3 separate regions of the Homo sapiens genome follow, and regions 2 and 3 are each linked to region 1. The links are contacts of gene promoters, found by promoter capture Hi-C in blood cells and fetal thymus (Javierre and others, 2016). All regions are on one chromosome and are shown on one strand. Each heading gives the region's core, a stretch centred on a gene start or on the middle of the fragment in contact. The rest is flanking DNA. Distances are from core to core; before and after follow the strand shown.

Region 1 (2,799 bases), core at 104-2,603:
ACTCCCTTGCTCGGACTCCAGACCACCTACAAACACCCTACTCCCATAGGCTCACAGGAATCTTCCCTGCCAGATCACACCCTTCCAAGGAAACCAAGCAGACAATCCGATCCGCCCAGGGAGTGGCCCAGCCCTGCCCAGCCCCCTGCTTCCAGGAGAGACCTAATGGCTGGCAGCGGACAATGTGGCGACCAGGGGCAGGAGCCCTGGAATCACCCAGGCCCAGCTTCGATTCTAACTCTGCCTTCAGCAGAAGCTTCTGAGCCTCATTTTTCCCGTCTGTAAAGTAGGTTCATCTTGAGCACTCACTTCACAAGATTGCAGCAGGAGTGAAATACGACCGGGCACACAGGGCGTGGAGCACAGTGTGAGCCCTCATTAAACATTAACCGACATTATGATGATTTGAGAGGCGGTCGGCCAGAGCAGGGCTCTGGGCCAGAACTCCGGAGTTAGAATCCCAGCGCACAACTTATGCATCGGGTGACCTTGTGCAAATCACTTAACCTCTTAATACCAGGTTAAGACCCCCTAAGACTATAGTGAGGACTGAATAAGCTCATACAAGTAAAGCGTTAAAAAGAGGGTCTAGCCCATAGTGTTTCATGAGTGTTTGCCATTATTATTTGTGGGAGGGTTCCCCCTTCTCCTGTCACCAGGAAGCATCTCTGACCCGGCCCCCCCCCCCCCCCCCGTCCCCCGCAATACGCCCTCCTTGGGTTTTAATTTTTGACTCTGGGAAACAGCTGCCCCGCTGTCAGATTCTCACCTTTGTACCTTCTAGGCACGCCCCAGCTTTGAACCCCTAAAAGACGCCCCCGAACCTAAAACTCATTCATCTGCTCCGCTAGGGGCAGCTTTAAACCTCCAACCTGGCGCCCCTGGGGCTGTGACCTCTGACCCTCGTGGGGGCAGCCTTCCCTCAAATTATTAACTTTGACCCTGCCTTTTTTGAGACTCGCCCAGAACCCCTCGAACGCGCCCCCACTTCGAATTTCAAACTTTGCACTCCCCTTCGCCACGCCCCCTTCGCTGGTTTGATCTCCGACCTCCACTACAACTCCCTCCAGTCTGCGTTAACCCCCGACCCCTCGGACGCGACCCTTCCCTCCACCAGTGACCTTTGACCCCGGCGGCCCCGCCCCCCTCCTCGCGGAAACGCCGTCCCGCCGCCAGCGCCCGGCCCACCGCAAGCCCCTGGCCGGACCCCTTATCCTACCGGCTCGGCGCCGCAGTCGCTCGCGGCCTAACTGCTCGACCTGGAACTCCGCGCCCTCGCGCCTCCCTCAGCTCTCTTGCACCGCCACCACCGCGGACACTCCCGCCGCCATGTTGAATCCCCAACGAACATCCGGGGCTTTCCCCCCTCACCGCCCACCAGTCCCCATAGCAACGAGGCTGACCGGGCAGTGGGCAGGGCCAGTGCGGGGGCGGAGTCGGGCGCCTCTCAGGGCCCGCTCCAGCCTCCGATTGGTACAGAGCGTCCAATCGGAGACCTTCGGGCAGAAAATGCCAAGCGGGGATTGGAAATTTTGGAAAAGGTGCGGGAAGGCTGGCTCCCGGCCCACTGAGGTCCTTAAAGGGGAAATGACTGTTTTCGTGTGATACCGATTTTCTAACTTCCCCCCCAGAAGGAGTTAGGGGCTGGGAGAAAGTAATGAGTTAATGGGCAGAAACAGTTCTTAAGCACTTACTAGGAGGCAGGCACCGGGATAAGTGTTTTACTTGCATTTTCTCGCTGCATATACAACCCTGTGGTATAATATCATTAATACCCATTTTACAGATAAAGAAACAGAGGTTCAGAGGGTGAAATAGCTGGCTTAGCATCATAGAAAGAAGGTAATGAGTTTTGAACGCTGGTCTGTCTGAGCCCGGGAACCTGAGACTGTTTGCTCTTCAATTTTTAAATAAGTTTTTACGAAGTAATTGGTCAAAATATTGAAAACAAACAGCAGACATCTTCTTTAAAAATTTTTTTAAATTTTATTTTTACTTATTTATTTGTCTTGAGATAGAGTTTCGCTCTTGTTGCCCAGGCTGGAGTGCAATGGCGCGATCTCAGCTCACTGCAACCTCCGCCTCCCGGGTTCAAGAGATTCTCCTGCCTCAGCCTCCTGAGTAGCTGGAATTACAGGCGTCCACCACCACACCCAGCTAATTTTTTGTATTTTTAGTAGAGACAGCGTTTCACCATGTTGGCCAGGTCGAACTCCTGACCTCAGGTGATCTATCCGCCTCGGCCTCCCAGAGTGCTGGGATTACACGTGTGAGCCACCAAGCTGGCCTTTTTCTTTTATTTTTAAAGAGAGAGTTTTGTTGTGTTGGCCAGGCTGGTCTCGAACTCCTGGGCTCAAACTATACTCCTGCCTCGGCCTCCCAAAGTGCTGGGATTGCAGGCGTGAGCCACTGCGCCCGGCCAGACATCTCTCCTCCTGGATCTTATTCACTGGACTCCAGCCTTCATGCTGTTCCTGAACTCTTGTCAGGTGCGCTCTCACCTCACAGTCTTTGCACTGGTTGTTCCTCTGCCTGGAACATACTCTTCCCCCAGGTATCCTTATCTCTCCCTCCCTTTTTTCAGGGCTTTACACAGATGTCACTTTCTCTGTGAACTAATTCCCTCGCTCACCCTAAGGAAAGCAGCAAACATCCCTCTCACATACTACCAAACTCTGTCTGCTTTGTTCTTATTTCTCACTCCTAATTGTAGTTATTGCTTGTTGGTTGTCTCCTCTGCTGGAATGTCAGCCCCATGACAACATGGATTTCTGTCTTTGTTCACTGCTGCATTCCCAG
Region 2 (2,799 bases), core at 106-2,605, 220 kb before region 1:
AACTCTATTTCAAAAATATATAACATACATATATGAATATATTATCATTTTACAGATGGAGCAACTGAGGCACAGAGAAGTTAAGTCACTTTGCCCAAGACTGTACACCAAGCTGAGATTTTCAAGGCCAGGCAGTCTGGCTTCAGAGCTCTTGCTTGCTCTTAACAATGCAAGAAAGCTGGGCATGGTGGCTCACATCTGTAATCCCAGCACTTCGGGAGACTGAGGTGGGCAGATCGCTTGAGCCCAGGAGTTTGAGACCAGCCTGGGCAACAAGGTGAAAGTTGGGCCTAAGGGCCCTTTAATACCAACATCTCTGGATGAATAAGGGGATCCTATCTGCCTTCTTACCCATTCCTAGTTCTTTTTACAGCACGACCTAGGCCTTTGAGAACTTACACTTCATGAACAAGGTAACAGGCTAGTTACCTAGGGTTAACTCACTTTCATAACCTGAGAAGAGACTGTCAGAAGCCAAGGGAGCACAACTTCTCTTATAAGAATCAACCATTATTTCCAGAAACTCCTGAAATACGTACACAAAACATGTACACCACTGCATTAGCAAAGAATGAGCTTTTTGTATGAATGGTGCTGGGGAAGGGAGGGAGAGGAGAGGAGAAGCCAGGCAGGGCCTCCTGGAAGATAAGTACAGTATGGGGAGCTCCGGTAAACTCTGGAATAGAGAGGAAGCTAGCATTCTTCCTCCCACTCCTAAATGTCTTGACACCCCTTCCCCCCGAAAAGTTTATTCTCTGCTTCCTTTCCCTTCTTTACACTTGTTTTCTCTCACTTAGGCATGTAATTAACTCCTGTAGATTCAATCATCACCTCTCTGTGGACAACTGAGACATTTTTTTGAGTCATCTTTGACTTCTTCCATTTCCCAAAGACCCAGTCATTAGGTCTTGATATTTCTTTTTTCTTAATGTCAGCTACACATGCCTTGCTTATCTTTCCCCAAACCTAAGTGGCTCTAGAACCAGACTGCCGGGTTGGAAATATAAGCCTGCCACTTACTACCTGTGTAATTTTGGGCAAGTGATTTCACCTTGCCATGCCTGTTTTGTCATCTGTAATGTGGGTGTAATAATAGTACCTACTGAGAAGGAAGACAGAAAATAATAATAGTGCCTACTCTCATAGAGTTGTGAGGCATAAATGACTTGGCTATTATCATTATTCTAGATTCCTCTCTTTCTCTAATCCCATCATCAAGTCCTGTTTTCTGTACACCCAAAATATATCTGCTTCTCTACATCTTCACTACCACCACCACCACCACATTCATGTCACCATTTCTCATCTGGACAAATGGATTGTCTCCTAACTTTCCTTCCTGATTCTGTCCTGACCCTCTGTTTTCCTCCCAGAAACCAAAGTGAGCTTTCTAAAAAAATTAATCAGATCATGTCGCTGTCTTGCTTTTAAAAACTCCCTTCTAATAGTTTCCCAATCCCCTTAAATGAAAATAGAAACTCCTTACTGTGGCCCTTAGGCTGCAAGTAATCTGGCTTCTGTCAGCCTTTCCAACCCTCACCCCTCTCCCTCACTTAGGCTTTAGCCACACTGGTCCTTGCGATTCCCTGAACATATGGCAGGGCTTTTGCACCTGCTGACCTCTCTGCCTGAAATGCTCTTCCCCGGACCGTCACAAGGTTGGTTCCTTCTCATCAATCAGATCTGGGCTCACCTGTGCCCCATTCTGCCTCATCTGCCCAGTAGGAAGGAGTCTATGATATCATCATCAAGAGATGTTTCTTCAAAGGCTGCAGCTCTTCCAAAAACACCTAGACTGTAAGATCCATGAGAGAAGGGAAGACTGTAGCTATATTATTCATTGCTACATCTCCAATTCCTAGCATAGCACCTGGTACATAGCAGGCCCTCAATAAATATCTGTGATAAATTTCCCCACCTTGCAGAGGTCCTTTTTCTGCATGTAACAATGCTTAGATTAGAATGTTCCACTCCCAGATCTTCCCACAACTGGTGCCTTCTCATCTTTCTGGTTATCAGGCTCAACTGTCACCTCCCAAAAGAGGCCTCTTCTGATCCCCCTGTCTACTACAGTGGCCACTCCCACCCTCTCTTTCACACTGTTTTATTTCCTTCACAGCATGAATCACACTCTGATTTTTTTGTTTCCTCCCCCCATCAGAATATAAATTCCATGAATTTCAGGACCTTGAATGTTTTATTCACTGCTCTGTCTCCAGTACCTAGAATAGTGCCTCCATGCATTAATGAATGAGTGCAGGCTGGAGATATTTGAGACTTGCATACTCCATACACTGCTGTTCTGTAACTTGCCCTGAACCCGCTTCTATTCAACAAGTTTACACTAAAACAAACAAAACAAAACTCCACTCACAGCAATCCTACTTAACTCTCTTCCAAAGTTCTGTGTCTTGGAAACCTTAAACTGTGGTGAGGGTATTGCCATTACTCCTGGATTCTGCTCCCCTGAGGCCACCATCAAGCCAGGCTGATCACCTCATATCACCCGTGATATCCCAAAGCAAAGTGTGGTTGAGTCAGACCAGCCACAAGCTCTCTCTAGACCCAAACAATCACAGAGCAGAGAATGACTGCGGCTGGGGGACAGTGGGGAGGGAGATTGCCATCACTGCTCAGAAAGTTCATCGGATGGAATCACAGGCCTATTTGGCTCAGCAAGCCAGAGACTGAGTTGCAGGGTACAGAACCCAAAATATGTTTCTAAGGATCTTCTGGCATAATCTCACATCTATTCAAGGAAGAAACTATTTTCAAACTGGGACTCTCAAGAAAGAGTTC
Region 3 (2,799 bases), core at 94-2,593, 180 kb before region 1:
TGGTGGGCTGTGTACAGTTCACCACCGCTGGGGATCCGGCGCCCTGCCGCCCGCTGAGGGCCCATTTCTTGGGCGGCACCATGATCATCGCCATCGGGGGCGTCATCGTCGCCTCGGTCCTCGTCTTCATCGTTCTGCTCATGATCCGCTATAAGGTGTATGGCGACGGGGACAGCCGCCGCGTCAAGGGCTCCAGGTCGCTCCCGCGGGTCAGCCACGTGTGCTCGCAGACCAACGGCGCAGGCACAGGCGCGGCACAGGCCCCGGCCCTGCCGGCCCAGGACCACTACGAGGCGCTGCGCGAGGTGGAGTCCCAGGCTGCCCCCGCCGTCGCCGTCGAGGCCAAGGCCATGGAGGCCGAGACGGCATCCGCGGAGCCGGAGGTGGTCCTTGGACGTTCTCTGGGCGGCTCGGCCACCTCGCTGTGCCTGCTGCCATCCGAGGAAACTTCCGGGGAGGAGTCTCGGGCCGCGGTGGGCCCTCGAAGGAGCCGATCCGGCGCCCTGGAGCCACCAACCTCGGCGCCCCCTACTCTAGCTCTAGTTCCTGGGGGAGCCGCGGCCCGGCCGAGGCCGCAGCAGCGCTATTCGTTCGACGGGGACTACGGGGCACTATTCCAGAGCCACAGTTACCCGCGCCGCGCCCGGCGGACAAAGCGCCACCGGTCCACGCCGCACCTGGACGGGGCTGGAGGGGGCGCGGCCGGGGAGGATGGAGACCTGGGGCTGGGCTCCGCCAGGGCGTGCCTGGCTTTCACCAGCACCGAGTGGATGCTGGAGAGTACCGTGTGAGCGGCGGGCGGGCGCCGGGACGCCTGGGTGCCGCAGACCAAACGCCCAGCCGCACGGACGCTGGGGCGGGACTGGGAGAAAGCGCAGCGCCAAGACATTGGACCAGAGTGGAGACGCGCCCTTGTCCCCGGGAGGGGGCGGGGCAGCCTCGGGCTGCGGCTCGAGGCCACGCCCCCGTGCCCAGGGCGGGGTTCGGGGACCGGCTGCCGGCCTCCCTTCCCCTATGGACTCCTCGACCCCCCTCCTACCCCTCCCCTCGCGCGCTCGCGGACCTCGCTGGAGCCGGTGCCTTACACAGCGAAGCGCGGGGAGGGGCAGGGCCCCCTGACACTGCAGCACTGAGACACGAGCCCCCTCCCCCAGCCCGTCACCCGGGGCCGGGGCGAGGGGCCCATTTCTTGTATCTGGCTGGACTAGATCCTATTCTGTCCCGCGGCGGCCTCCAAAGCCTCCCACCCCACCCCACGCACATTCCTGGTCCGGTCGGGTCTGGCTTGGGGTCCCCCTTTCTCTGTTTCCCTCGTTTGTCTCTATCCCGCCCTCTTGTCGTCTCTCTGTAGTGCCTGTCTTTCCCTATTTGCCTCTCCTTTCTCTCTGTCCTGTCGTCTCTTGTCCCTCGGCCCTCCCTGGTTTTGTCTAGTCTCCCTGTCTCTCCTGATTTCTTCTCTTTACTCATTCTCCCGGGCAGGTCCCACTGGAAGGACCAGACTCTCCCAAATAAATCCCCACACGAACAAAATCCAAAACCAAATCCCCCTCCCTACCGGAGCCGGGACCCTCCGCCGCAGCAGAATTAAACTTTTTTCTGTGTCTGAGGCCCTGCTGACCTGTGTGTGTGTCTGTATGTGTGTCCGCGTGTAGTGTGTGTGTGTGTGTGTGTGTGTGTGTGTGTGTGTGTGTGTTGGGGGAGGGTGACCTAGATTGCAGCATAAGGACTCTAAGTGAGACTGAAGGAAGATGGGAAGATGACTAACTGGGGCCGGAGGAGACTGGCAGACAGGCTTTTATCCTCTGAGAGACTTAGAGGTGGGGAATAATCACAAAAATAAAATGATCATAATAGCTAACGCTTAGTGAATACTTACTTACTATGTGCCAAGCACTTAAGTCATTTAATTCTCACAACACCAGGACATATCGGTATTATTATCCTGTTTTCCAGATGAGGGAATTTTGGCCCAGAAAAGTTAAATAACTGGCCCAAGGTGGTAAAACTGGGATTTAAAAAGGCAGGCAGGCCAACTTCTGAGTCTCTACTATAGGGGTGAAAAGACAGCTTCCCCTTCACTCTCTGAAATTTCACTGGAATGGGCTGACAATAGATTAACAAGAGAAAAGGAATATGGAGGGTATTTAACATGCACTAGGAAAATCACAGGAAAGTGATTACCCAATAACCCAGTGAGGTTTATATACTTATATACCTTTCTTCACAGGAGGGGAGATGGGGAAAGGAAGGCAATTTTGAGGGGTAATAAATGATTTTGGGGAAAATAAATGGGTCCAGGAGATAGAATTTAGCTTGTAAATGTCTCTGGAATTTGAGACTGACAGACAGATAATTTCTTGTGACAAAGTCCGTCCAGGTGTAGACATTTCTCTGTCTTTTTTTCCTGTTAAAGATAATGAAATGTCAGGGAGAGGACAGAAGGCACTTGTGTTCTTTTTGATCTTTAGGCAGATAAGAAGACATAGGAGGAAAGCCTCTTCCAGCATCTATGGATCTCTAAGTGCCTTTAATTTAAAATAATCAGCATACCAGGGTGCCATATTTTGGGGTGACATTCCCTGAACTCCTTTAATACTCAACTAGAGCACTGTACTGCTGAGCAGTTATTGAATATTCATTCCACCCTCTGAGACCTCACAACTCAGTGGGGTAGGGTAGATCTATCCTTGGTCCCATTTTACAGACAAGAACCTGAACCACAGAGAGATGAAGTCACTTGCCGTAGTCCCTCCATCCCCCCAATGAATAAATAGCGGAGCTGGAAGTTTGATTGTACCC

Evidence for each region. The method cuts DNA at HindIII sites, captures the fragments that hold promoters and counts their contacts. A CHiCAGO score of 5 or more calls a contact.
Region 2: a fragment that was not itself captured here is called in contact with the fragment with the promoter of PAK4 in region 1 in 16 of 17 cell types (fetal thymus, naive CD4 T cells, total CD8 T cells and 13 more); the score reaches 10.9 in fetal thymus.
Region 3: a contact is called between a fragment that was not itself captured here and the fragment with the promoter of PAK4 in region 1, in 16 of 17 cell types (megakaryocytes, erythroblasts, endothelial precursors and 13 more). The highest score is 14.3, in megakaryocytes.

The regions. Positions count from the first base shown.
Region 1 is chr19:39,124,340-39,127,138 of GRCh38, reverse strand. PAK4 (p21 (RAC1) activated kinase 4) reads right to left here and starts at 1,353. Exons shown (of 10, transcript NM_005884.5): 1 at 1,220-1,353. The HindIII fragment of the contact is 5,933 bases long and covers 259-2,799 here.
Region 2 is chr19:39,347,284-39,350,082 of GRCh38, reverse strand. The region is part of intron 1 of SAMD4B (sterile alpha motif domain containing 4B); the gene reads right to left. Among named protein-coding and RNA genes, the nearest start is that of SAMD4B, 6.3 kb to the right of the region's middle. The HindIII fragment of the contact is 3,053 bases long and covers 1-2,799 here.
Region 3 is chr19:39,305,625-39,308,423 of GRCh38, reverse strand. LRFN1 (leucine rich repeat and fibronectin type III domain containing 1) reads left to right here. Exons shown (of 5, transcript NM_020862.2): 5 at 1-1,858. The coding sequence ends at 791. Among named protein-coding and RNA genes, the nearest start is that of IFNL1, 11 kb to the right of the region's middle. RefSeq lists an enhancer at 96-597. The HindIII fragment of the contact is 8,108 bases long and covers 1-2,799 here.